Linked DNA regions of Homo sapiens: regions 1, 2 and 4 are each linked to region 3. Evidence: promoter capture Hi-C in 16 types of primary human blood cells and fetal thymus (Javierre and others, 2016). All regions are on one chromosome and are shown on one strand. The core of a region is centred on a gene start or on the middle of the fragment in contact, and the rest is flanking DNA. Distances in the headings are between cores, read along the strand shown. Region 1 overlaps SRP72 (signal recognition particle 72). Region 2 holds the start of SRP72 (signal recognition particle 72). Region 3 holds the start of FIP1L1 (factor interacting with PAPOLA and CPSF1). Region 4 overlaps PPAT (phosphoribosyl pyrophosphate amidotransferase).

Region 1 (7,062 bases), core at 4,363-6,862, 3.1 Mb after region 3:
TTTTTTTGAGACTGTCACCCAGGCTGGAGGGCAGTGGTGCAGACATGACTCACTATAGCCCCAGACAGTCCTCCCAAGTACCTGGGACCACAGGTACACACCACCATGCCCGGCTAATTTAAAAAAAAATTTGTAGAGACAGAGTCTTGCCATGTTGCCCAGGCTGGTCTTTAAACTCCTGGGCTCAACAAATCCTCCTGCCTCAGCCTCCCAAATTGCTGGGATTCCAGGGGTGAGCGACCACACCCAGCCTGGAAAAACATTTCAAGGTCACAATTGAAATCCAAGTCAGTGGAAAGTAAGAAAAGTAACATTTGAACATACAATTTATCTTGATATACCATGTGATTTTTCAAGTACCACCTTATTTCTTCCTCTCAATAATCTTTTTAGGTGGTAGTCCTTATCTCTGTAGGAGTATAATCTGAGACTAAAAGTAGTTAAGTAATTTGTATAAGGTCATAGCCTACTTCATAAGAGGAAAAACTTGGATTCAGATTCTAGTTTCTGACTTCAAAGCTTTCCCCTTCTACTACTTAGTGGTTCTTCTCTCCTGTGGCAGAAATGTAGTGTATCTTTGGATGTAGATAATGGCATTAAAAGGGGTAGTAATCATGGGAGGTTGCTGTTGGCCATTGGTATGGTATAGATTTCCAAACATTGATACTAGCCTTTGAATCTTGGCAAAAATATATACCTGCCTATGTTTATGAATTTTGAAATGCTTGTCAGGACAAATTTTTTTTTCCCCCAAGATGGAGTCTCTGTTGCCCAGGCTGGAGTGCAGTGGCACAATCTCGGCTTACTGCAGCCTCCACCTCCCGGGTTCAAGTGATTCTCATGCCTCAGCCACCCGAGTAGCTGGGACTACAGTCACGTGCCACCACACCCGGCTAATTTTTGTATTTTTAGTAGAGATGGGGTTTCACCATGTTGGGCAGGCTGGTCTCAAACTCCTGATCTCAAGTGATCCTCCTGCCTCAGCCTCCCAAAGTGTTGGGATTATAGGCATGAGCCACCACACCCAGCCAGGACAAATTCTTTTTATCTGACATACATAATTGTAGGGGAAGAGAGCATGTGAGATACTAAATATCTCAGTCTGAACATAACTTATACACTGAACTTTCTTTAGTCAGTGGGTATTTCTGACTTTTTCAAAATAGTACTGGATGCAATAGGTAATGAAAAATACAAAGCATCATCACATAGTTTAAAATCTCTTTCTGGTGTTGAAAAAAATTGTTCATGTTTAAATTTTTTGTCCGTATACTTTATAACTATATATTTAATACTACATTTGGTGAACGGAAGGATCTCTGGTTTGGCAAGTTTGAGCTGACCCTTGAAGGAGGACTGTGGTTTGAAGGTTAAGCAACAGCACAAAAAAAAGTACATATGAAGAAATATTTATGATTTGTAGGGGAAAAGTGAGAACACAGAAGAGGGTATGTATTTGCTGGATAGTTTAAAAAGTAGATTAGATTGAACTATATCAGGGCCTTGGAAATCAAGTTTAAGAAAAGTCTGGCAGTGACGTGCACAATTAATTGAAGTATTAAAATTGCGACATGAGAGAACCAGCTAGAAAATACGGTTTCTTTAGGATTGATTTATATGAAAGGCAGTTTCTTGCTGTACATTAAAGTAGTTTCAAATTGGTTTGGAGCTCGACAGTAAGAAAAAGTAGAATTTATTTTAGATTTTTTTCGCTTCCTTTTTGTCTTTAAACTGGTAGAAGACCTGGTTTAAAAAAGCACAGTGGTATCATGTATTTGCAAGTAAATACATTGTTTTACAAAGCTAGAGTATTGTGCACAAAGTAGATACTCACATGCTCAGTTTGTGCTTCTCAGGATGCAATCAGTGTGACTTAGTTTTCTCCCTTTTTTTGGAGATGTATGTGACTTTCAATAATTCTTAATAGGACTTTCTTTGGGCAGATAACACTGTGCCCCCACATGGGAATTTTAGAAATTGAGCTTCTTTATGCTTTTGCTTGGCTAAGAAGAAGGGGCTTTAGGAAAGGAAAAACAGTAGATATGTTACATGAGTATTTTCTGCTAAAAAAAAAATGGGTTCAAAAGTGGTACAGATATGTTTCTGAGGTTTCATGATTGCCTTACAGAGTCACTACAGGCATACCTCATTTTATTGTGCTTTACTTTATTACACTTTGTAAGTTTTTCACATATTGAAGGTTTGTGGCAACTCTGTGTTGAGCATATCTGTTGGCTCCTTTTTTTTTTTTTTTTTTTTTAAGATGGAGTCTCGCTCTCTTGCCCAGGCTGGAGTGCAGTGGTGGGATCTCAGCTCACTGCAACCTCCCAGGTTCAAGCAGTGCTCCTGCCTCAGCCTTCTGAGTAGCTGGGACTAGCGTGTGCCACCACACCCAGCTAATTTTTGTATTTTTAGTAGAGATGGGGGTTTCACCATGTTGGCCAGGCTGGTCCCGAACTCCTGGCCTCAGGTGATCCACCCACCTCTGCCTTCCAAAGTGCTGGGATTACAGGCGTGAGCCACTGTGCCTGGCCATGGTGGTATCATTTTTTTAACAGCATGTGTCCATTTCATATCTCTGTATCAGTATTTTTTAGCATTGAAGTATTTTTAAATAAAGGTATGTACTGGGCCGGGCACAGTGGCTCACGCCTGTAATCCCAGGACTTTGGGAGGCCTAGGTGGGCGAATCACGAGGTCAGAAGATCGAGACCATCCTGGCTAACACGGTGAAACCCCATCTCTACTAAAAATACAAAAAAAAAAAAATTAGCCAGGCATGGTGGCGGGCACCTGTAGTCCCAGCTACTCGGGAGACTGAGGCAGGAGAATGGCGTGAACCCGTGAGGCGGAGCTGGTAGTGAGCTGAGACTGTGCCACTGCTCTCCAGCCTGGGTGACAGAGCGAGACTCCATCTCAAAAAAAAAAAAGGTATGTACTTGTTTTCAGACATAATGCTGTTGCACACTTAATAGACAACAATATAGTGTAAACATAGCTTTTATATGCACTGGGAAACCAAAAAATCTGTGACTCCTTCTATTGTAATATTTGCTTTATTGCGGTAGTCTGGAACCAAACACGAAATATCTCCAAGATATTTCTGTATTTTGAAGAGGAGTGAGTTACTTTTTATTTATCATCTAAATTCTAGAGGGCATAGCTTGTAGAAATTGCCAAGTTAGGTATTTTTGTAGTCCTAATACACTTCAATTTGTGCTGTCCCTTTTTTTCCTTCAAAAAGCTCAAAACAAGCAATTAATAGTGGAAAAATAAAACAAATCTTGTTCTCCATTTCTTTAAAGCAGTTCACTTGTTAAGCCTTTTTATACCTAGGAAGCCTCCTTTGAGAAGGCTTTAAAAGGAGTGGGGGTAGATTCTGGGATAACTATATGTACATGAGTAGATTTGAATTGCAGAGATTCAAAAAGAGTAGATTTGAATTACTTCTGTGAATCAGGATAAATTTATATGCATCTTATTAGCTTAGGCACCCCAATCAGGTAGATAGATTCAAGCTCTCCTGCTGTATCTATATAAAGTTAATAGAAAAAGGAATAAGTTGAAATCTGAGATTCTGTTAATGATAGATAAACTTTTCTTTGTTAGGACCAAAATGTCTTTGACTCCAAGAAGAAAGTGAAATTAACCAATGCGGAAGGAGTAGAGTTTAAGCTTTCCAAGAAACAACTACAAGCTATAGAATTTAACAAAGCTTTACTTGCTATGTACACAAACCAGGTGGGTAATTACCTTTGGTGTCATGGCTAAACCTTTTGTAATATGGTATATGAGGAGTAATAGGGATATTAGTCTAATCTTTTTATAGTTTTTGTTTGTATTTTGTCTTCAACTCATAAATATATTTTTTTGCCTTCCTCAAAATATTATATATATTATTGGCTGGGCACAATGGCTCATGCCTGTAATCCTAGCACTTTGGGAGGTTGAAGTGGGCGGAATGCCTGAGTTCAAGAGTTCGAGACCAGCCTGAGCAACATGGTGAAACCCTGTCTCTACATGGTGGTGTATGCCTGTAGTCCCAGCTACTCTGGAGACTGAGGCACAAGAATTGTTTGCAGTGAGCTGAGATTGTGCCACTTCACTCCAGCCTGGGCAACAGAGAGAGACTGTCTCCAAAAAGAAAAAAAAAAAAGAAAGAATATTATGTGTCATAGATTTTATTTATTAAACAAGTAATTTGCCCAATTTCTTATAAGGGTGTAGGGTTGACACCTTTTAAGGGGAAGAAAACAGTATTCACACCTTTAAATGAGATAACTTTCTCATTACCTTATTTCTAATCTGAATTAAGATAAAATCATCAAAGATGCTAGCCATGATTATAGATTTAAGACCCATCTTTCATTTTTGCTGTGTATAATCACATCAAGTTATAAATGTTAAGGAAGTCAATTCTAACTCCAGTAAGCATTCTAATTCTAATTTTATACTGTTTTAGAGCAGAAGTTTTAGTGGGAGACAGAGAAGCAGTAATTTTTTTTTTTTTTTTTTTTTTTTTGAGATGGAGTCTCGCTCTGTCGCCCAGGCTGGAGTGCAGTGGTGCCATCTCGGCTCGCTGCAACCTCTGCCTCCTGGGTTCACGCTATTCTCCTGCCTCACCCTCCCGAGTAGCTGGGACTACAGGCGCCCAGCACCACGCCTGGCTAATTTACTTGTATTTTTAGTAGAGACGGGGTTTCACCATGTTAGCCAGGATGGTCTTGATCTCCTGACCTCGTGATCTGCCCACCTCAGCCTCTCAAAGTCCTGGGATTACAGGCATGAGCCACCACGCCCGGCCGAGAGACAGTAATGTTTTTATTATTTAGAACTGAGTCAAGTTATTCTTAATAATGTAGCAAAAAATACATATATGCATTTTGTTGTTTTTGAAGCAAATGCTTATATTTGATGTGTTTGATTTTTTTAAACAGTTCTAGAATTTAGGCATCCAAGTGAATGTTTAGAATTTCTCCTTTACTAAAGACTCTTAGAGCTCATAGATTAAATTCAATAAATGGAAACCATTTTCTTACAAGAAAAAATTGAGAATAGATACTGTAAACTGATTCTCTTACCCTAGGCAGTTCTTTGGTTAATATTTGTTTCAACTGATTTTCCCATGTTTCTTTTCTTTCTGGTCATTTAGTGTTTAATTTCATTAACCAGTTTATTTTTCTTGTGGGGGTTGGATATCTTCTAGGCTGAACAATGCCGCAAAATATCTGCCAGTTTACAGTCCCAAAGTCCCGAGCATCTCTTACCTGTGTTAATCCAAGCTGCCCAGCTCTGCCGTGAAAAGCAGCACACAAAAGCAATAGAGCTGCTTCAGGTAAAATAATTACTTGAATGAGGTGTCAGACATTTGCAGCTTTGTTTCATTTTCATTGTGTTGTAATAACCTACTAGCATGTAAATTTAATGGGAAAACTAATCAGAAATGTACCACTACACAAATTTCATTGTCATTTTAGTTAACTCTTGGGTTACAGAGCTTTATATAAATTTCTTTGTGTTATATAAATTTCTATAATGTAAATATTTGTTATAAATGCTGAAGAATGCTGTTTTGTTTGGAGATCTGTTTAACCTGAGTTAGGGGATCATTTAGGCATGTATAATTCCAGAACATACTTAACCTCTTTTGCAATAATCTGATCTCCAGTGAGTTCTACTCCAGAACCTCAATTATGGAGATACTGACTTTGTTTTTATCAACCCAAACCAGCTATTATATTGCATATTTAAATTTCTTGAATATAAACTACATTGGAAAGTTGGACAGGTACAATTAGGATCATCCTGACAGACAAAATTGCCTAACAGGGACACTCAGTGAAGAGACACCGCCCCTTCTCTCCCCACAGCAAAAAAAAAAAAAAAAAAAAATCTATTTAGTAATCTTTATTATAGTTGACCCTTTGTATTCTTGAGTTTTGCATCCAAGAATTCAACCAGCCATGGATTAAAAACATTTTGTGGGGGTCGCCAGGCGTAGTGGCTGACGTCTGTAATCCCAGCACTTTGGGAGGCCCAATCAGGCAGATCATCTGAGGTCAGGAGTTCAAGACCAGCCTGGCCAACATGTTGAAACCCCATCTCTACTAAAAATACAAAAAATTAGCCTGGCATGGTGGCGCATTCCTGTAATTCCAACTACGTGGGAGGCTGAGGCAGGAGAATCACTTGAACCTGGCAGGCGGAGTTGCAGTGAGCCGAGATCACGCCACTGCACTCCAGCCTGGGTGACAGAGCAAGACTCCGCCTCAGAAAAAAAAAGCACATTTTGAGGTTGGAAATGTATGACTGCCTCTGTACTGAACATATACAAACTTTAAAAATCATTACTCCCTAGATAATATAACAACTATACACATAGGATTTACATTGTATTAGGTATTATAAGTAACCTAGCAATGATTTAAAATGTATAGGAGCATGTATGTAGGTTATACGCAAATACTATACTTTTATATAAGGGACTTGAGCATCCTTGGGTTTTGGAATCGGGGGTGGTTCTGGAAGTAATACCCTGTGGCTGAGGGATGATGGATTTCTCTGTTAGTGACTTACAGAAAACTTGACTTCATTGCACTTACTTTTAGAGCATACCTTTAAGAAAAAAAGTGAGTGTTGAATAAAAATTTCCCCAAGTTAAGATTTTGACCTGCAGCCAGAAGTTTAATGTTTTAAAACTGGATTTAAAATCTTATGTAGCTAAGTAATTGTAATGTATACAATTAGTTGTGTAAATTAAATGTGATTTTTTTCCCCCAAACTAAAAAAATTTAGGAATTTTCAGATCAGCATCCAGAAAATGCAGCTGAAATTAAGCTGACCATGGCACAGTTGAAAATTTCTCAAGGTATTATGGTTTTCATCATGATTAAAATATTTTAATGAAAACATGTTTGGAATGATTAAGCAGTTGTGAACTATGTGATTTTAAGTTTTTTTGTGTAATAGTAAAGCATAATAATTACTGTTTCAAACATGCAGCTAGATTGTATGATCTCCAACAGATTTAGTAGTGAGGTAGTTGCCCCTTTTCGTGGATTA
Region 2 (6,461 bases), core at 534-3,033, 3.1 Mb after region 3:
GCACCAGGGACCGGTTTCAGGGAAGACAATCTTTCCACAGGAGTTGGACAGCTGGTTTCAGTATGATTCAAGCTCATTACATTTCCCATTAGATTCTCTTAAGGAGTGAGCAACCTAGATCCTTCACATTCCCAGTTCACAATAGGGTTTGAGCTGTGAGAAGCTAATATCACAGCTGATCTGACAGGAGCTCAGGCGGTACTGCTCACTGGCCCACCGATCACCTACTGCTGTGCCGCCCGGTTCCTAACAGGCTGCAGACCAGTACAAGGGTTGGGGACCCCTGTTCTAAGAGGATGCAACCAGAAGGCTGCCCAGTCTGCAAGATCAAATGTTTCCTCAAAGTAACTTTCAACGTATAACCAGAAAGACTGAAAGACAAAAAGTAGTTAGCAAGGCCGGGCACGGTGGCTTACGCCTGTAATCCCTGTACTTTGGGAGGCTGAGAGAGGGCGGATCACTTGAGGTCAGGAGTTTGAGACCAGCTTGGCCAACACAGTGAAACCCCATCTCTACTAAAAATTCAAAAATTAACCGGGCGTGGTGGCTCATGCTACTTGGGAGGCTGAGGCAAAAGAATCGCTTTAACCCAGGAGGTGGAGATTGCAGTGAGGTTCATCCTGGGTCACAGAGCTAGACTACGTCTCAAAAAAAAAAAAAAAAAAAAAAAAAAAAAGCTAGGTTCCTGAGGGACACAGGAAGTAGTAGAAGTTGTAAAGGTCATGACGAGATATGAGTCTGAAGAGCAGGCCATTCAATGAAATACAACATTCACATCAAGTGAATCACTCACATCGTCTTGGTGTGGTGGCTCATGCCTGTAATCCCAGCACTTGGGGAGGCTGTGGTGGGAGGATTGCTTGAGCCCAGGAGTTCCAGACCAGCTTGGGCAACACGGCAAGATCCCCGTCTCAAAAAAAAAAAAAAATCACTCACATCAAGTGTACCCAACAGATATCCATTCCCTTCGTACATCTGAACACATCTTGATATTAACGGTCGCAAGCAAACCCTAATATTTTATATCTCTAGAACAAATATAGTATCCCCATTTCACAATCGGGAAAACAGACTCCCAGAAGCTAAGTAACTTGTTTATTGTCAGACATCTAGTGAGTCGCAGAGCCAGGGAACTGACCACGGGCATTTTCACCCCATTACCCTTCCAGCTTATTGCCGACTGCTCCCGAAGGGAGCGAAAAGGACAGGCAAAGGGTTTCACCAAACCCTTTGTAATGGGAGATTCTTGCCTTCTTACCTTTCCTCACGTTTGCTTCTCTGCCAGAATGTCTTCCCGCACTTTCCCCAGAACCCAAGTTCTCCTAATCATCTTTCAAGATCCCTTTCCCTCAACCACAGATGAGCCGTGCCTATTTCTCCTTCAAATGACTCCCTATGGCTTCTAGTTGGTAGTCTTTTATTTACCACCTCATAGTCCTTTTATTTATATCCCATAAATGATCGTCCGGCCCCGCACCGTGGGACCAGGACGCTGCCTCGACCATGGCGGTCTCCTGGAAACAGGCTGCTTTGAGCCGAAACTGGTGACCGTTTCCCAACCCCGTCCAGGAGTCCGACGCCTCTTTTCTCCAGGCCAACTTCAAGTGAGGTGTATCAACTCTATCCGCACAAATTTCTTGCCACGAGAGCAGAAGATTATGATCTCTGATGCTGCCTTAGGGCTGAAGACACTCCCAACTCGGCGACGCTTAGCAATCATCGACTTCCTCCTCCTCTTGGCTGCCTCGGAGATCCTGTTCCGGGGCAGAGGTCTCCCCGCCCCGCCCCTCGTCTCCTCCAAGATGGCGAGCGGCGGCAGCGGGGGGGTGTCAGTACCTGCGCTGTGGAGTGAAGTGAACCGGTATGGCCAGAACGGCGACTTCACGCGCGCTCTCAAGACCGTCAATAAGAGTAAGTGTCGGGGTGGGCACTGGGGCGGGCCCAGGCCGGCTGGAGGATGCGGCCTGTTTCCGGCGCGCGAGACCACCTCGCGCGGGAGGCACGGGAAGGGGAGACCCCCGAAACCCCCCCGTCTATTGTCCGCCCGGCTCGGGCCCTAGCGCCCGGAAGACGCAGGTCTCACTCCTCGGCTTCACCAGGCCAGCCTGGGGTCCCTGGTTGCTTACAGCCACGTGTACTTCTCTTTTTACCCTCCGCGGGAAGCGAGGGAAGGTTTTAAAGAGACCGCAGCTCCCGGAGTCCATTTCAAACTGTTTTCTTATTTGACTCCTTTGCTGCTTTATTTCACAAATATTCCAAAGTGCCTCCTTTTCTTCTTCGTCTTGAGCGCAGTGATCAGGACTCTATTGCTGAGGGAGCTTGTTCTCTTTGGCCGCTAAAGGGGGAGGAACCTGCTTGGGACACGTAGTTTAGAGGCTGGTGCTAACCAGGTGGAAGCTGTACGGGTTCTACGGGGCGAGAGGAAAGGGCTGGATCTGGATGTCAGGCCTGTCATTCCCATAGATGAGATCTCTTCAGTGTTATTAAGTTAGGAAATATGTGTGTGGAAGCACCAACACTTGAAATAATGTCGGAAGAAAAGTTTGGCCTGTTTTTTTGCCCTGTAAGGGATGATTTCGGTTTTTACCGCCTTTGGTGTGAGGTTTAATTCATCATATTCTTTTGTTCCTTACTACATACCTGGAATATGGCCATGCTGCTTAATGTTCTCGGTGGTGCGCAGTTCTTCTCTACTGAAGATACAGCCTGTGCATGTTAGATTTGGAAATGTAATTACCAAGGCAGGGCTTAGCTGTTCAGAGTAGCAGTAACCTAAAAGGTGTGTCAGTAACATGCAAAGCTATCTAAGTAATTTTCAACACTCTAGTACTGGGTTAACGTGAAAAGTAGTGATTGTGCCCACAGTGCACTTTTGGTGATTTCAGACATTGAGGAAAATAGCTACGAATTAGAATTATTTGATCCCTAAATTTGTTTGAATTAACTCTAGCCTTCCAACCAGTACTGTATACTTAGTATAGTATTTTGCAGGAATTCTTTAATCAGCAAAGATTGTCAACTTGTTTACCAGTATGTTTTCTTAATTGGTAGAAATTCTTGTGATTCTTTGAGAATTGGACTTCTGTAGTTGCACAGGAGCAAGAGTAACTATGATCCTGGTCATTTTAACACCGAACAGTTGTTAGCGTTGAAACTTGCCACCTGAGTTCTTCCTTATACTTTGGTCATCTTAGTTGAAAAGGGGAAATTTTAATGATTTTTGGAAACGTTGCCAGCAAGATAAATTGCCTTTGTATTATACTTTATAAGATTTTTCCAAAATATTCATTTCATATTGTCAGTAACCTTATTAAATAGGTAATGCTTTTCTAATCATTTTGTAGCTAAGAAAACTGAGATTTGGCTGTTAAGTGATATGCCCAATACCTCAAAGCATTTAGTGGCAAGCTTGCACCAAACCTAGGTCATTTGCTTCCAAATTCTACCTGAACTTTTTCCCTGTGAAGTAATGAACTATGTAGAATGTAGCATGCATTTCAAGATGAAATATCTGGAGAAATTGCTTCTTTCTTCTTTATTTCACTGCACTTTTTTGGTACATGTATATTGGGAATCTTTATCTCATTGAAAATTTAATCTATAACTCTCCTTATTGTCACTTCTTAAGTTAAAAGCAAAGATTAGTTGTTTTCTGGGTTTGTTTTGTTTTGTTGCTGTTTCTTCCAGTTGTTCTGACCAATTATTTCTGTTGCAATAAAAGTAGAAATTTAGCTTTCGGAGAGACAGGGTGGGAAAATTTAGTAAAAATGTGAAAAGGAAATGGATTTAAAAATGACTTTTCCTAAAATTGTTCTCTAGTACTACAGATCAACAAAGATGACGTAACTGCCCTGCATTGTAAAGTGGTATGCCTTATCCAGAATGGAAGTTTCAAGGAAGCTTTGAATGTCATCAATACTCACACCAAAGTGTTAGCCAAGTAAGTGATTCAGTTAGTTGCTTGTACAGTTATTAGAAACACTTACTATAGCTATAATCTCTTCCATGTTTTTTCCCAACTATTTGCTGATTTTTTTTAACGTTTTTTTCCTTCCTTTTTTTCCCCCCTTTTGCTTGTCAATAATGTTTCTGAACTGGAAGGAATACTAGTAACTTCTGTTTTTTTCAGCCTTAGAGAGTTTTTTTTTTTTTTTTTAACCACTGTGTTTCCTTTGAACCGCTAAGGAGGTGAACCATAGAGAGTTGTGGGGCATAATTATGAGTCGTTGGAGGATGTAGCAAGAATAACTCAGTCGAAGTTTCTTTACTGTTATACCTAGGCTCCAAAAAAATATGTATTGAAATTAAGTTTGAAGCATATTAATGGGATACTGGTTTATAAGGTGCAGAACAATATATATTATACTTCCTTTTACAAGAGGAGGAGGATATAAAAATTTATATATGCATTTGCCTGTATTTGCAAAACAAACAGTATAAAGAGAAACAATGAATAGTCATTTGTGGGAGGCCTAAGAGGGCGGATCACGAGGTCAGGGGTTTGAGACCAGACCGAGCAATATGGTGAAACCCCATGTCTACTGAAGATACAAAAAATTAGCTGGGTATGGTGGTGTGCACCTGTATTCCCAGTTACTTGGGAGGCTGAGGCAGGAGAATCACTTGAACCCAGGAGGCAGAGGCTGCAGTGAGCTGAGATCGTGCCATTGCACTCCAGCCTGGGTGACGGGGAGACTCCGTCTCAAAAAAAAAAAAAAGTCATTTGTAGGAGGTAATAGGAACAGGTTAGATTTGGGTAGCAGTGGGAATAAAGCCTCTTAGTGTATCTCTTTTTCTTTTTATATTTGAGGCGTATAAATGTGTTAGAGATTAAAAATTAATTGTAAACTTTATTAAAAATAAAAGGGAAATAGAGGCAATGCTGCTTTTCTCCTATTAAATATGTTTGCTAAAATTCAGTCTCTTGATTTTGGGCTATTTTGTGAGAAAAGAGACATTTTCAAAAACATTTTGTCAATGAGTCTTGGATAAAAGTTTTTTTTTTTTTTTTTTGGGAGGAGTCTTGCTCTGTCGCCCAGGCTGGTGGAACCTCCACCTTCCGGGTTCACGCGATTCTCCTGCCTCAGCCTCCCAAGTAGCTGTGATTACAGATGTGCACCACCACGCCCAGCTAATTTTTGTAATTTTAGTAGAGACAGGGTTTTGCCGTGTTGGCCAGGCTGGTCTTGAACTCCTCACCTCAAGTGATCTGCCCACCTTGGCTTCCCAAAGTGCTGGGATTACAGGCATGAGCCACCACACCTGGCTCAAAAATAAATTTTTTGTTAGGTAAGTAAATAAAGGACATTAGCCTTTGCTTTGATAAATATTTTTCCTCATGGATTATGGTTGAAACATCAACAATGAGGTATCACATTAATGTAGATGAATTTTTAAGTGTGTGTATGTTAGTAGTGTTTACCAGTTGTTTGATTACAGGTACTTCTTTTAAGATTTCTAGTTACTGTTTCTTTGCTAATCATTTGTTTCTTAAACAAGTTTAAAGAAATATGGCTTATTGTTTTGTTAATGAATTTAAGAAACTTCTAAAACAACCCATTTAACATCCTTCAGATTATCTTTGTATCTAAGACAATTACTTATTTAGCAGATGAATGATTTCCTTCTTAAATGTTTATTTCAAAAGGCCAATAATTTTAATAACAATATCCATGAAAGAGAGGCTAGGGAAGTTGATATATGCTTAATTATATGTTTGATTGATATACATTTACAAGCTATCTGATATTTAGACAAGTCTCTAACCTTTGTCAGTTTTCTCATCTGTTATCAGGACTAAATCCAGTGTTTAGAGTGGTGTTGTATATAATGGGTGCATTGCATTGTTAGATAATAATCAGATACTGTTTTTTTTTCCTTCTTCAGTAACTCTCTCTCCTTTGAAAAGGCATATTGCGAGTACAGGCTGAACAGAATTGAGAATGCCTTGAAGACAATAGAAAGTGCCAACCAGCAGACAGACAAACTGAAGGAGCTTTATGGACAAGTGGTAATTACTGCTTTTAAATACATGTTGACAGTGATACTGAGTGAGCATGACTACCTCTAGCAAGGAGCAGGGTTGAGGAAACCCAGCCCATCCTGATGCTCCACAAAACTGACCACCAAACCAGTCCTTAAGGTTTGAACATAATTCCTCTTCTTGATCTTCATACAAACAGTTGCATATATAATGTGCTATGAACAAATGACTTCCTCAGGTAATCAGAAAATCAAAGAAAATGAACTAATCTGTTTAATTTTGACTTTTGAGTTAGAAAGATGAAGCACATTGAGCTTGTATATTAAACAGATTTGAAATACTATTTCACTAATATTTTACTCTAAGGATGTCATGATAGATAAGAATTTAGATGATTCTAGCCCATGAAATTGTGAAAATATTTTAAAGTATTTTGAGACATAAAATTAACCCTAATGTAAAATAGGGCTGTTAATGA
Region 3 (6,870 bases), core at 1,121-3,620:
TCTGACTCTCTTATTAGAATCAAAGCTCCACAAAAGAAAGAACTTTGTTTTATTCACTGTTGAATCTACATAGCTGGAAGAGTTCCTGGCAAAACAAATGGGAAGAGATAAAATGGGATTCAGGAAAGATTTCACAAAGGTGATTATACCCCCAGAGAGTTTAGAAGGATGCAAGAGATTATCATAAAAAGATAAGGGAGCTGGGAATAGCTGGCAGAAGTGTGTTCAAAGGTAAGAAAGATTAAAACCACATGGTTTGTTTAAATAATGTGAGATATTGGTTGGGCGTAAACCCTTCATTTGTGCTTCTATTACAACACATTCACCTCTTCTCTTGTAGGAGAGTTGTTTACTGCCCCTCTGTCTTTCTCAATAACTTCAGAGTTCTTTAAGGGGTGGGACTGTTTCACTCATGTCTTCATTTTCCAAGTTCTTAAACAGAGCAGATATTCTGTAATTGCTAAATAAATAAATGATAAAACAATATTTATTCATCAAGGAGCAAGAAAACTCATTTAGTTGTTCAATCAAAATGGATTTCTCTCTGTTGACAAGCGAATGCCCTGTTTGTAAACTTTATAAATGAAAGAGACCTCAGAGATCATCTAACTTGGCCTTTCCATTTTATAGATGAGAAAACTGAAGCATAGAAAGGTTGATTGCCTGACTATACAACCTGCTAGGTATAATGAAGAACTGAGGCCAGGCCTGGTGGCTCATACATGTAATCCCAGCACTTTAGGAGGCCTAGGTGGAAGGATTGCTAGAGACCACGAGTTCCAGACCAGCCTAGGCAACATGGTGAGACATTGTCTCTACAAAAAATAAAAAATTAGCCAGGTGTGGTGGCACCTGCTTGTCTGTAGTCCCAGGTACTCAGGAGGCTGAAGTGGGAGGACTGTTTGAGTCTGGGAGGTAGAGACTGCAGTGAACAGTGACCCTGCCACTGCATTTCAGCCTGGGTTACAGAGTAAGACTGTTTTTTAAACAAAACAAAACAAAACAAAACAAAACAAAACAAAACAAAAAAACAGGCCGGGCGTGGTGGCTCATGCCTGTAAGCCCAGCACTTTGGGACACCAAGGTGGGCAGATCACCTGAGGTCAGGAGTTCAAAACCAGCCTGGCCAAAATGGTGAAACCCCCTCTCTACTATAAATACAAAAATTGGCTGGGCATGGTGGTGCGTGCCTGTAATCCCAGCTACTTGGGAGGCTGAGGCAGAAGAATCGCTTGAGCCCAGGAGGTGGAGGTTGCAGTGAGCAGAGATCGCACCACTGTACTCCAGCTGGGCAACAGAGTGAGACTCCGCCTCAAATAAATAAACAAACAAACAAAAAACCTAGACAAACCTAGAGCTCCAGTTTGAACCATGGTATGTCATCTTTTCACTGGAAGATGTGCTTTCAGAAGCGGCCTGAACATTTGGTTTACCTATTAAAATAAAAACTGTACATACTTTATGATCTATCTTTGAGAAACAGACAAATCTGCAAGGAGCCGTGTGGATCTTCATTGTCATTTTTTGTTGTAGTTAAAAGTGTAAAGTCAAAAGCAATCTGGGTGTACATCAATGGAGAAATAGCCATATTCACTCTGTGATAGCCATACTATGCAATTTTATGAAGCACTTAAAATAGATATAGTTTGATTCATACTAAAATGAAAAAGAGCTCCAAGACACGGATGCTAAAAAAAAAGAAAAAAAAGGAAGTCGAAGGATGATACTATACTGTACTGTACTATTTAAGACTTGTCAATCTCAGGTTCTCCCACCAAAACAGCACAACACATGAAGTAAGTGTATAGGAAATTTCGGAATGATGAACTCCAAACAGGATATGCATCTGTAGCAAGGGCTACCTCCGGAGAGAAGGGTAGGGGAATGAGGCGGTCTTTGACCTTGACAGTAATTTATGGTTTTTAACAAGGAGAGTGCATTCTTCATCTATTAGTTTTGCTTTTGTTGGCTGTGAAAATTAATTTTTTGAGAAATAGTACTGATTGTGATTTCTTCTCTATTCAGTGAGGAAAGGGAGTGACAGGTAATGATTCTGTATCAAGGCTGATTAAAGAATAAAAGAAGGCCTTTCTGAAGATTAAAAAACAAATAAAAAGTTGAGAAGAAAGAGCACGAAGAGTAGAAGGGAACAATGGTGTACTCGCCAGCAATGGCAATACGGGTTATTAAAAAGAAGGGTGGGGGCGGGGAACCCTGGCCGACTCAGGACGCCACGGGAGGAAGCCACGCAAAATAGCAAACCGGGATCCTAGAGGGGCGGGGCCCACCTCAGCGCGCAGGCGCAACCAGGCCCAGGTGGCCGCCGCGGAAGCGAAGCCACCTATACGCGCCGCGCCGCTTGGGTCTCCTGCGCATGCGCAGACGGACCTGCGCTGGAGGCTTCATCTTTGCCGCCGCTGCCGTCGCCTTCCTGGGATTGGAGTCTCGAGCTTTCTTCGTTCGTTCGTCGGCGGGTTCGCGCCCTTCTCGCGCCTCGGGGCTGCGAGGCTGGGGAAGGGGTTGGAGGGGGCTGTTGATCGCCGCGTTTAAGTTGCGCTCGGGGCGGCCATGTCGGCCGGCGAGGTCGAGCGCCTAGTGTCGGAGCTGAGCGGCGGGACCGGAGGGGATGAGGAGGAAGAGTGGCTCTATGGCGGTACGAAACTTCCTGTCTCTGTCTCTCGGGTTCTCTCAGGCCTCCCCTCTTGGCCCTCAAACGGCCGGCGTCCCTGGCCTCTCGCGCCGCCGCTTCGGGCCTCTGGTTGGGAGTCCTGTCCGGCCTGACTTAGGCCGAGCGCGGCGTGCGCGTGCCCCCAGTCCCCGCGGCGGTCTCCCGCCTGGCCCACGCCCACCATGCGCATCCACCCCTGTGGCGGCCGGGCCGGGCTGGGGGGCTGTGACCGGTCCTGGCCCCCGGCTTCGCTGTGCTTTCCCCGAGGCGTCTCGATCGCCTAGCTGCTGCGCTCTTTACCCTTGTTTTTTTCTGTCGATTCTGAGGTGGTGGTTTTTGGTGTCTGTTTTTGCCCTGTGGCCTTAGGGTGCCCTTCCTGTCCCTTCTTTCAGAAACAGTCATTCTGTAATAATAGCTAAATAAAGTTAATGCTGTACAACTAACGTCTTGTTTCTTGATGGTCAGTTTGTATGGAATGCACCTGCAAGGGTACCTCCTTGTCTGAAAGTCGTGCTTTAAAAATAATTAATTAAGAGAGAGAGAGAGAAAGATGGCCCATAAAGAAAACTCTGAATGTCTCCTGTATTAAGGTGAAGTTATTCTTTTTTAAGAGACTACCGTTTAACCTACATCATGGAGGTATCTCATGACCCTTCGGCTTATAGTTTTCAGTGTCATCTCATGTATTTGTTTTTCTCAAAATAAATTTAATGCATCATGTACTTCTCTCTAGAAGGGTACTTGTTTGACATCTGGTTTTTAACTTTAAGTCACAATCCCTTCTTGCTTGTTAACACCAGATTTGAAAGTTAATGTTTGTTCCTTGCCTAAAACATATATTCTTGATTGTCTTTAGAATAGAATAGTAAAAGTGCACTTTGGGCACCATGCAGGTCCTTGATGATGTGACTTTGATAAACTTGTAAAAAAAAATCGTTTGGTGGCAAGATTTAGCATTAGTTACTACTCTTTGAAATGTGAATGTGTAGGATTTCTTTTACAAAGATCTGGAAATCTTCATTACCTCTTAAATTTAAGCTTATTTTTATAGCAGTAAAGTCTGATTTTTTTTTCCATAAAATAAGTATCTTGTTAAGTAATTATAAGGTGATCTAACTTTGGATGTGCTTATAGGCCCATGGGACGTGCATGTGCACAGTGATTTGGCAAAGGACCTAGGTTAGTGCTTGTGATGATCACTTCAGATTTTCATAATACTAGTTTCTTTAAGAGTGGTTTCTTTATTTTGTTTGCTTATTTATTTATTTGTTTATTTTACTTGGTAGATGAAAATGAAGTTGAAAGGCCAGAAGAAGAAAATGCCAGGTTAGTGAAATTTTCTGTTGATGCCTATTACACAGGTTGTGTGAAACAATGGTTCTGTCAGTTGTCAAAATTATTTTCTTACAATCATTGGCTTCATTACAACACTGACTTACAACATTTTGGAGGACATTGAATCCTTTAAGGATTATTCCAGTTTCAGGACCTAATCTTACGCCAATTCTATTTGTTGGTAGTTTAAAGGACAAAGTTTTTGAACTTAGGATTGGACTGATTTTACACTGTTAAGTAACTTGTTACTCTTAAGTGAATTCAGTAGTGAAGTATACAGTATAATCGTTAAGCTACTGATAAAAATATTTTAACTTAATTGAAAATGTTTTTAAGTAAATCAGGAACACTCCAAACTACTGCTTTTCCAGTTTATTAACATTTTTGATGATATAATGGCAGTTTGGTTGTAATTTCAATGCTATGTATTGTTTGCATTCAAAATGTAATTAGCTGATTTGTTATAAGGTTGATTTCTTTGTTAGATTGTAAGAAAGATGTAAGTGTTCATTTATAGAACATATACAGGGAGTCAGAATTTTACCCCAGATTTCAAAAAGCAAGCCATGTAAAGAAGTACATGGAGATGTCGGCTTTACCCTGACCACATGCATTAGTGTCTGTAATGGAGGGAGAGGTAGTTAGAAGATTTTAAGGAATATTTGGGTTTAAAAAGTGGAAGATATACAACTTCATACCGAGTAAGCTGCAATCGAAAAGATAAAACAGGTGTTAGTGAGGATATGGGGAAATAAAACCCTCATACACTTCTGGTGGGATTGTAAAATGGTGCAGCTGCTTTGAAGAACAGCCTGGCCATTTTCTCAAATGGTGAAACATGGAGTTACCATGTGAGTCCTCCACCTTAGAGGAATGAAAACATATTCAGACAAAAACTTGTACGTGAATATTCATAGCAGCATTATTCTTAATAGAAAGTGGAAAAAGAAAACCTCGCAGCTGCATCAACTGATGAATGGATAGATTAAATGTGTTATATCCATACAGCGGAATATTATTTGGCAAGGACAATAAAATGAAGTACTGGTAGATGTTACAACACGGATGAACCTTACAAATGTGGAAGCTAAAGATGTCAGTCCGTAGAGACAGATTAGTGGTTACTAAGAGTTGGGTGAGTGATTGCTAATGTATACAAAGTTCCTTTTGGGAGTGATGCATACATTCTGGAATTAGATAGTTGTGATGGTTGGACTATGTGACCATATTAAAACTCAGTTGTCCTGTTTGAATGGGTAGATTGTATAATATGTGAATTGCATCTCAAAGCTGTTACAACAAAAAATGGATAGAGGGAAAAAGTGAGAAATGGAAGTAGAAATAGCTTAGGAGGAGCTGAAACTACAGTTCAGCTTCCTTACCCAAAAAATCCCCTATAGTCTTTTCACTCATTGGTATATTATCTGAAATGTTATTTCATTTTAAAATTTATATATTCAACTCAGTTCCTAATTCTGATCTCAACCACAAAGTTGAGATTAGTTTTAGTTTATGTTATGAAAGTGATTGAATATTTCTTTGTACCCATTCCTTCAGTTGGTCAAGAAATTAATTACAGGTATAGTTTTACAATCAAATATACTTTTCTATATGATAATCTTTATCCCATTAATTTTTATTTTTATTGGTTACAATTTTAAAAGCTTACTTTCTAATCAAACATTCTTTAATTTTAATTCCGCAATACACAACTTGCTAAAATTTATTGGAGGGAACCTTCTACCTTCCCTGAGTGTCACTGTCAACATAGCTTTATATTCCTTTCTGCAACTTCATTTGGGGAGCCGTTGAGTTGATTTCATCCTATGGGGGAAAAAACAATTTCCTTTACAGTGTTATTTTTCTAGAAAAAGCTTAAAATTTTATCATGTTTCTAACATTTTAATGGTGATAGAAAATTAAAACTTCCAAAAGAGTAGGCCTATTGAAGAAAGGTACTCTGCCAGACCTACTGCTATCTGGCTTGGTACATCATTGCATTGCTCTACCAAAGTTCCTGCTATTAGAATTTGCCCGTTTCCTACTGACTGGCTCATTGCTGAAGCCTCTGTTTTTCTTAAACATTGCATTGCAGTCTCCAATTGTGTTATATCTATCCAAGTTTTGACTAAAGAAGGGATACTGTTTTGTGACGTAGAAAGCAAATGGGACTTGCTTCTGGCTACCTAGAAGCTTATTTCAGCAGGAGGTAAATGTACTGAACAATTATAGCTGCATATTTGTTTTCTTGAAGCAAGCAGTAGAACAATGAAAATATAACAGTTATGTTTTGACTTTTTATCTTTCATTTTGCTTTATTTGGTGATTGTGCTATAAAATGCCACTGTAAAGATCAAATTGATTTAGGATAATTAAAATTGATTAAGTTTGTCATATATTTTTAAAATGTGTAAAAAGCTTGAATTATAGCCCACCATCAAATTATAAATCATTAATAAACTGTGAAGGCATTTGCATTCTTTTTTTTTTTTTTTTTTTTTTTTGAGACAGCATCTCACGCTGTCGCCCAGGCTAGAGTGCAGTGGCATGATCACTGCAGCCTCACTGCAACCTCTATCTCCTGGGTTCAAGCAATTGTCTGCTTCAGCCTTCCGAGTAGCTGGGATTACAGGTGCCCGCCACCATGCCTGGCTAATTTTTTTTTTTTTGTATTTTTAGTAGAGACGGGGTTTTACCATCTTGGCCAGGCTGGTCTTGAATTCCTGACCTCGTGATCCACCCACCTCAGCCTCTCAAAGTGCTGGGATTACAGGCATGAGCCTCCACGCCCAGCCTGGCATTTGCATTCTACTTACAATGTTGAGTACTTGTCTTCTGCAAGTTACTAGAAATAACGGAATAAGACA
Region 4 (6,485 bases), core at 821-3,320, 3.0 Mb after region 3:
GGAAGGCACCTCTTCACAGGGCACGAGGAAAGAATATGTAACTATGGAAGTACACTGGAAGGCCAGGAGTGGTGGTGGCTCACACCTGTAATCCCAGCACTTTGGGAGGCCGAGGCAGGTGGATCACGAGGTCAAGAAATCAAGACCATCCTGGCCAATACAGTGAAACCGTCTCTTTGAAAAATATAAAAATTAATTTGGCATGGTGACACACGCCTGTAGTCCCAGCTACTCTGGAGGCTGAGGCAGGAGAATCACTTGAACCCAGGAGGTGGAGGTTGCAGTGAACCGAGATTGCGCCACTGCACTCCAGCCTGGTGACGAAGTGAGACTCCATCTCAAAAAATAAATAAATAAATAAAAATAAACCTCACTGTTTGTTTTAACAATAACAAGCGTGGTAAGGGTGGTGTCAGTCCATAAGTTAGATAGGCAGTTGCTAGGCAGATGTCGTTGCAGAAGTATGTGTGTGTGTGTGTGTGTTGTGTTTAAGGTTGTGGTGGCCTTTGTGCAGGTTGTAAATTTTTGTAGTCTTTTGATAGTTCTTGTTATCAACCATATGTACATGAGAACCCTTCCCCTTCATGGCGTTTCCTGGCTCCGTTTGCCAGGGTTTTAATACGAGTGACTCCATTTTGAATCTGACAACTTTCACATTTCCCCTTTTGATCAAGGTCTTTCTCAAAAGCATCACTGATCAATCATCCTGTATTTAGGTTTTGATATCTCTTGGTGCCAGTCTGCCCTCATGTTGAAGGGAGTCACTGGTAACTAGGAATTAGCATCAAAACCCTTTAGCCACATTTGAACAACAAAAGAGGTTTGGAGGGAGTGGATCTCAGGCTAAGTCTACCTGGAGTCCACTGTTAAGTTCAATTCTGTCTGTTCCATAGGCACTGTCTATCATCTCAAAGTGCTGGGAGAGCATTATTCTCTTAGGAGTTGCATTTCTATGCAAATTTGACAAGAAACAGGTATAAAGTTCTTAAAAAAAAAAAAAAGAAAATACAAAGTAACAATCTCAGCATAATAGTTTTCAGCCGTGAACCTAGGCTTAAAGACAACCAGTTGAATAAATCAAATGATCATGAAGAATTAGGTGAGACTTATTATACCATGTGGGCTATTTTCTTATTTTGTGTATATAAATTCCCCAAAGGAATGTATCCAGGTACAGCATGTAGTATGAGCAAAAGCACAGACATCTCTTTGTTTAGCTGGTACACAGCAATCCTATTACTTAGCATTCCATGACTGGCTTGAATTAAAGCAGAGAGAGCTAACTCTGTTTTAAAAAAGACCATTAGTACAATTTGAACAAAAAGTTTACTGAGGATGTTGCCAGTATTACCCCCTGGGTGGACTAAAGGATTTATGAAGTCAGATTCTGTCAAGTCACCCACAATATCTACCGATTGTGAAATTATCCTGCCAAATCAAAGAGGTAGGCATAAACAAGGAAGAATTAAGAGGGGCAAGAGTGTCATTAGGATGGGGAGTTATGTTCCATCATCTTGGGAAAAGCTGCCCACAGTATGGAGATGTTAGCTTTTCATTCTGGTTTACAGTTTTAATGTCTCTGGTTATAGCATTGGGCAGTTTTGTGAACCTTTGGGCATGAGATTTCTCCCTTAAAATTCAGTTAAGTTTGAGCTTGGGCTTTAAGAACATAGCAAGTCTCGTTTTTAGTAATTCTATGGAAGAAAGTTGGATTGGAGGAACCTAGAAGAATTAAAGATCCAGTCCAGCGACCAAGGTTTACCTAGTTGCACAGAAATTTTCTTAACACTGGCAGGTGCCCTACTAGTAATCTTTCTTGTCTGTGACCAGTTTATCCTTAACATGGGAGACTTTTTCTTTGGATACCTTCAATATTTTCAGAGTGGTATTTTCAGAGTGGTGCCTTTCACTTAGTTAATATGCATTTATGTTCCTTCTGTCATTTAATGGCTTGATTGCTCATTTCTTTTAAGCACTGAATAATATTCTATTGTCTGAATGTACTACAGTTTATCTATTCATTTACCTACCCACCCTGACACTTTGAATCTAATCCTGCTCTTCCATGACACTCCCTCTTTCCCCATAGTGCTTCCTAGGAACTTGCCACGATGTAGTGCTTACTTAGTACTGCTTTTCTAATTACTTAATTTGTCCCTCATAGTCAACCAGCAGTTTTGCCTGGTTCATAAGAGATGGCCTATTTATTGAAATGCCTGGATCAGAGAAATAAGATATGACTAGCTGGTGCCAAGAATGGAGCCTGGAAGTTGTCTCCATGCTGTTTACCATAAAGCACTAACTAAAGTCACTATTTAAAAAAAAAAAAAAAAGGACACACATATTTAAACATACTTATTACACATATTTATCAACAAGGCATCACAAATAAGTCACAAAAAGTAGGCTTAGTTTAGTTCACAATATAAATCCCGTGAAAACACATTTTTCATCTCTGCAGTTTATAATACTCTACGTATATGAATTTAAAGCAGTTAAACAACATTTGAGATTAAATTGGTAAAAAAAAATTGTAATTGAATTCAGACTTCAGAAAATTGTGAAGTAAAAGGCCATGATGGAGAAATATTAAGAATCTGTAGAATTACTAAACTGTCACAGTATTATTTTCCTTTACAAAAGCATCTCAGTAAAACAAAAACTACAGAAAACGCAAAGTAAAATCAGAGATTTTGGTTTAGTACTTTCCCTGAGTCTCTTGTTTTAAAAATCAAAGTAAGGCCAGTTCAAAATTGACCCACAGGTCTTGCCTCCTCCATGCTGCCATGGGGAGTACATTTAAGACAAGAGGCTACGCATGTTGAGGTGGTCCCAGGGCTTTATTCAAATGCCAATTTGCCCGTGTCACTGCCACAGGGTTATCTGACCCACTGCTGCATGTGGGCTTAAAGAGCTGTCAAAATTTTATCTTGGCCTGCTATAATATAATATGCGAGACTATATACCAAAGGAAGACAAACAGTTTCAGTTATTAATAAATATTAAATTTCTAAATGGATCTGGACACTATATACATCAAATTATGGTAACATAACAGAAACAAACACTTTTATGTTTAAAAATTCTTACATAAACAAAGGTTTGGGGTCAAGTCATCTTAAACTTCTAATCTCAGATGTTACAAGAAAAAACTTCAAAAAAGAAATCAAATTCATTAGATCTTAATATAGTAGAAAAAAGTGATTATAAGATGATACTTGGACTTGGATTGTAAGTTGATACTAATTCCCCAAAGTGGTTGTCTCTTTGATCCTTAAACAAAACTGGCCCCTATTGTGTCTGTACTTGATCACTTAATTGCAATAATATTTATGTGTATGTGTACATGTATATGTACATCTACATGTATATATGTTTGCAAGTGATCAAGCACTTCATTAAAAAAAGCATATGATAATTAATTAAATTAAGGATAAAGGGATTGTTTGAATCTAAAAATTTGGTTTTTATTTCAAATGTACCAGGTTACTTGCTGAGCTTATAGTATCAGGGCACTAAATACTATGGATCACATTTTCTAGTCAAATGTAGGAAAAACTTTTTCACAGATTTTTACAACCCTTTTTAGGACATCTCAAAGAGAGATGGCAAAGATCTGCCAATTATGTCTCCTTCCATCATAATGAAATCTTAATTAATTGTAAACTAATTTCAAAAAGTTAACAATCATTAGCTTTCTGAAAGCTAACAATCATGAGTTGTCTTAAAATCAGAAGTGAAATGATGGCTCAAATCACAAAAGTATGACACTTATTCACATTCTTATTAATTATTTAATAAGTATCCCATTGCACATGTGGGGAAACTGAGGCACCAGATTATTATTATTTTTTTTTAAAGATTTGTCTACAGTTAGACAGGGAAGCCAAGGTCATAACTACAGCCAGAACTGTAGAGGCTAGACACCTATGAGGTATAATGTATTCTATTCAAACTTTGTGTGAAATGGTATATTTAACTCACCTGTCTTGTTGGCATCACCTCTCCTTAACCCTAACTTCTTGCAAACCCTTTAAAGCATGGACTTGGGAAATGTCAGTGACCACCTGCCTTCTCTGACCAGGTTAAAAAGGCTAGCCAATGCTTGTGTAAAAAAAAGAACACCACATATTGTTGTATTATATGCAATTGGAAATGTTCAGTTATCGCACTTTGGTATCCTTTTCAGAAAAAAAAAAAATCTCAAAACTTATAAACATAAGCATGGCATTTTACATTGTACCAACTGAGTAACAGTAAATAGATGAGGTGTGACCACTATAACTTCTTGACCAACTTTCTATCTTGAAACTACACACATCCAACCCTACCAGCTACCATTCTAATTCTACAGGATATTTTCCAGTGAGACAAGCTGTACAATGACCACTCTTTTCAAAACATTCCAGACCATTTCCATTTTCTTGGATCATAATATCGTGCTTTTTCTCTTTCTGTTTTTTAAACTTTATCCCTTCTTGTACAGATGAAACCAGTCCTTCTACTGACAGATACACAACACTGTTTGCTCCTAAAGAAAGAGGGAAAAATAAAAATGTAATAAGAATTCCTTTAGAAAGGAAGAAACGCGTCAACAGAGAATAGTTACAAACAGAATAATTTAAGCTAGGATAAATTTCTCCTTTAGCCTTTCTTTAAAAAAAAAAAAAAGGAAAAAAAATCAATAAAACTCAGTTCCTTTATTTTTAAAAATTTTAATTGGAATCTAGGGGATAACATAATTTAAAACAGCAGAGGAGGCTTCAAGTCTAGAATGGAATTAGAGGGCTTTGGGAGTAATTTTCTTAATTGAAAAAATGGAATTTAAAGTCAGGAAGATCTAGGCTCAAAGTTAAGCTCAAGTTCACTCAGTTTTCCTAAGTCTATTTTTTCATCTATATAAGATGGTGGAAACATTGCCTAAATGTAGAGTTTTTATGATAATATAGATAATATAGGCAGCATAGTTTCTGGCAAAGTGTGAGTGCTTATAACATGTATGACACCCATCAGGGTGATATTTAAAAATATTTAACCAGTGAGGCATATGCATGACAGGTTAAAAGAAACACCAGCCACAAACAGATGGTGTGGAGGTACCAAGGCACAATGACTAAATATCATGTGTTATTTCCACAGTTTATACATCACCTGATTTTGAAAGGAAGATGTCTTACCCAGGATAACTTAGATCTCGAAGTCTCCTTATCTCATTATTGAATATGAACCTACACAAACTTTTTACCTTGTGATTTGTATCCACATCCAAATTACTCTGTTAGAATCTGATTAAATTATTTTTGTTTTTCTTGGGATCTGACTTTTGGGAGGCTTTAAGTGATTATGATTGCACTTCCCTCCACCTGGAAACCACCTCTTCCTTCTCTGATCTCACCTTGGCTTAGCTCTCCAACACAAGACTCTGTGGTGTCTGCCCATGCCCACTACTCTCACTGTTGAGAATAGTATTCAATATCTGTTTAACATATATAACTACTTTTAACAAACACTGAATACTCCTTTTTACTAAAGGTGTAAAGACTGTCAAGCTTTGGATTTTCTCTGTTAATAATCAAAGTTTATAGAAATTTTAATACTTACCTAGATATTCTGCAAGGTGATCAAATTCTGGTTTATTGGCAATGAGCTCTTCTTTTGTAGGAATGTTTATTCCCATGAAGCATGGATATTTAATTGGTGGTGAAGCTACTCGAATGTGTACCTTGGAAAGAAATCATTGCACACAAGGTTTTTAAGACTATGCAAAATTCTTTCATTGTGCAAATACAATACAAAATTGTTTTGCAGAATATTCAGTAACAACATATGGGTAATAAATTATTCTTTCTACAAAGCTGCTTCTTGGTTTTTTTTTTCTTTCACCTAATCATGAGGAAGTTTCTTTGTCTAGATATCCTACTTCTCATTTGATGTCTTTACATTCCTAGAGCCACTTTTCTCTTGTAATACCAGGTACTTCTGCTTATCCCTTATCTTACCATTTTAAAAAGAAAAATACAATTTACCAGGTTATAACAAAAACCTTACTACTACAACAGAGTTGTTTTTGTCTGTTATTGTTTTTTTTGCCTTTCATCAGGTACGTTTACATGGCTATACTCAGTGTCCACATTTCCTTTTTAAACTTTATTAGAATAGATTTTCCCATTTTTGCTACGCAGTCTTCTTAGTATTTAATGGCTGCATCATATTTCATCACACTGATATATCAATTTACTAAATTATATTCACCAACAGGGAGATATGCCATTTCCAGGTTCTTTGACTTTATTCTTTTTCACTATTGCAATAAATGATGAAATTATGTTAAACTCTTGTATCTATTACATAATTTCCACAGAATTCCAGAGTAAGATGATCATAATCCTAAACACAGGTATAAAAAAGGCTGGAAAATCATAATCCCAATTATCTTGGAAACTTTCTAAATAAACTGGCATGCTGCTTTTCATCCCACTTTCTTC

Evidence for each region. The method cuts DNA at HindIII sites, captures the fragments that hold promoters and counts their contacts. A CHiCAGO score of 5 or more calls a contact.
Region 1: a fragment that was not itself captured here is called in contact with the fragment with the promoter of FIP1L1 in region 3 in 1 of 17 cell types (neutrophils); the score reaches 6.3 in neutrophils.
Region 2: the fragment with the promoter of SRP72 here is called in contact with the fragment with the promoter of FIP1L1 in region 3 in 2 of 17 cell types (non-activated CD4 T cells and neutrophils); the score reaches 9.7 in non-activated CD4 T cells.
Region 4: a contact is called between a fragment that was not itself captured here and the fragment with the promoter of FIP1L1 in region 3, in 1 of 17 cell types (naive CD8 T cells). The highest score is 5.7, in naive CD8 T cells.

What each region holds. Positions count from the first base shown.
Region 1 is chr4:56,479,530-56,486,591 of GRCh38, forward strand. It overlaps SRP72 (signal recognition particle 72), which reads left to right. Exons shown (of 19, transcript NM_006947.4): 9 at 3,610-3,741; 10 at 5,207-5,335; 11 at 6,796-6,868. Among named protein-coding and RNA genes, the nearest start is that of SRP72, 15 kb to the left of the region's middle. The HindIII fragment of the contact is 3,798 bases long and covers 3,714-7,062 here.
Region 2 is chr4:56,465,834-56,472,294 of GRCh38, forward strand. It overlaps SRP72 (signal recognition particle 72), which reads left to right and starts at 1,784. Exons shown (of 19, transcript NM_006947.4): 1 at 1,784-1,911; 2 at 3,820-3,940; 3 at 5,887-6,010. The coding sequence starts at 1,803. LOC124900706 (a long non-coding RNA gene) reads right to left here and starts at 1,725. Exons shown (of 2, transcript XR_007058126.1): 1 at 1,259-1,725. RefSeq lists an enhancer at 1,629-1,838. The HindIII fragment of the contact is 5,513 bases long and covers 1-3,406 here.
Region 3 is chr4:53,375,271-53,382,140 of GRCh38, forward strand. FIP1L1 (factor interacting with PAPOLA and CPSF1) reads left to right here and starts at 2,371. Exons shown (of 18, transcript NM_030917.4): 1 at 2,371-2,653; 2 at 3,803-3,847; 3 at 3,955-3,994. The coding sequence starts at 2,569. It overlaps LOC105377654 (a long non-coding RNA gene), which reads right to left and starts at 2,470. Exons shown (of 3, transcript XR_007058118.1): 1 at 2,389-2,470; 2 at 327-460. RefSeq lists enhancers at 2,089-2,637, 2,439-2,528, 2,579-2,698, 2,638-3,186 and a silencer at 2,859-2,948. The HindIII fragment of the contact is 4,469 bases long and covers 1-3,704 here.
Region 4 is chr4:56,391,018-56,397,502 of GRCh38, forward strand. PPAT (phosphoribosyl pyrophosphate amidotransferase) reads right to left here. Exons shown (of 11, transcript NM_002703.5): 10 at 5,602-5,722; 11 at 2,345-4,531. The coding sequence ends at 4,335. Among named protein-coding and RNA genes, the nearest start is that of AASDH, 6.8 kb to the left of the region's middle. The HindIII fragment of the contact is 6,954 bases long and covers 1-5,547 here.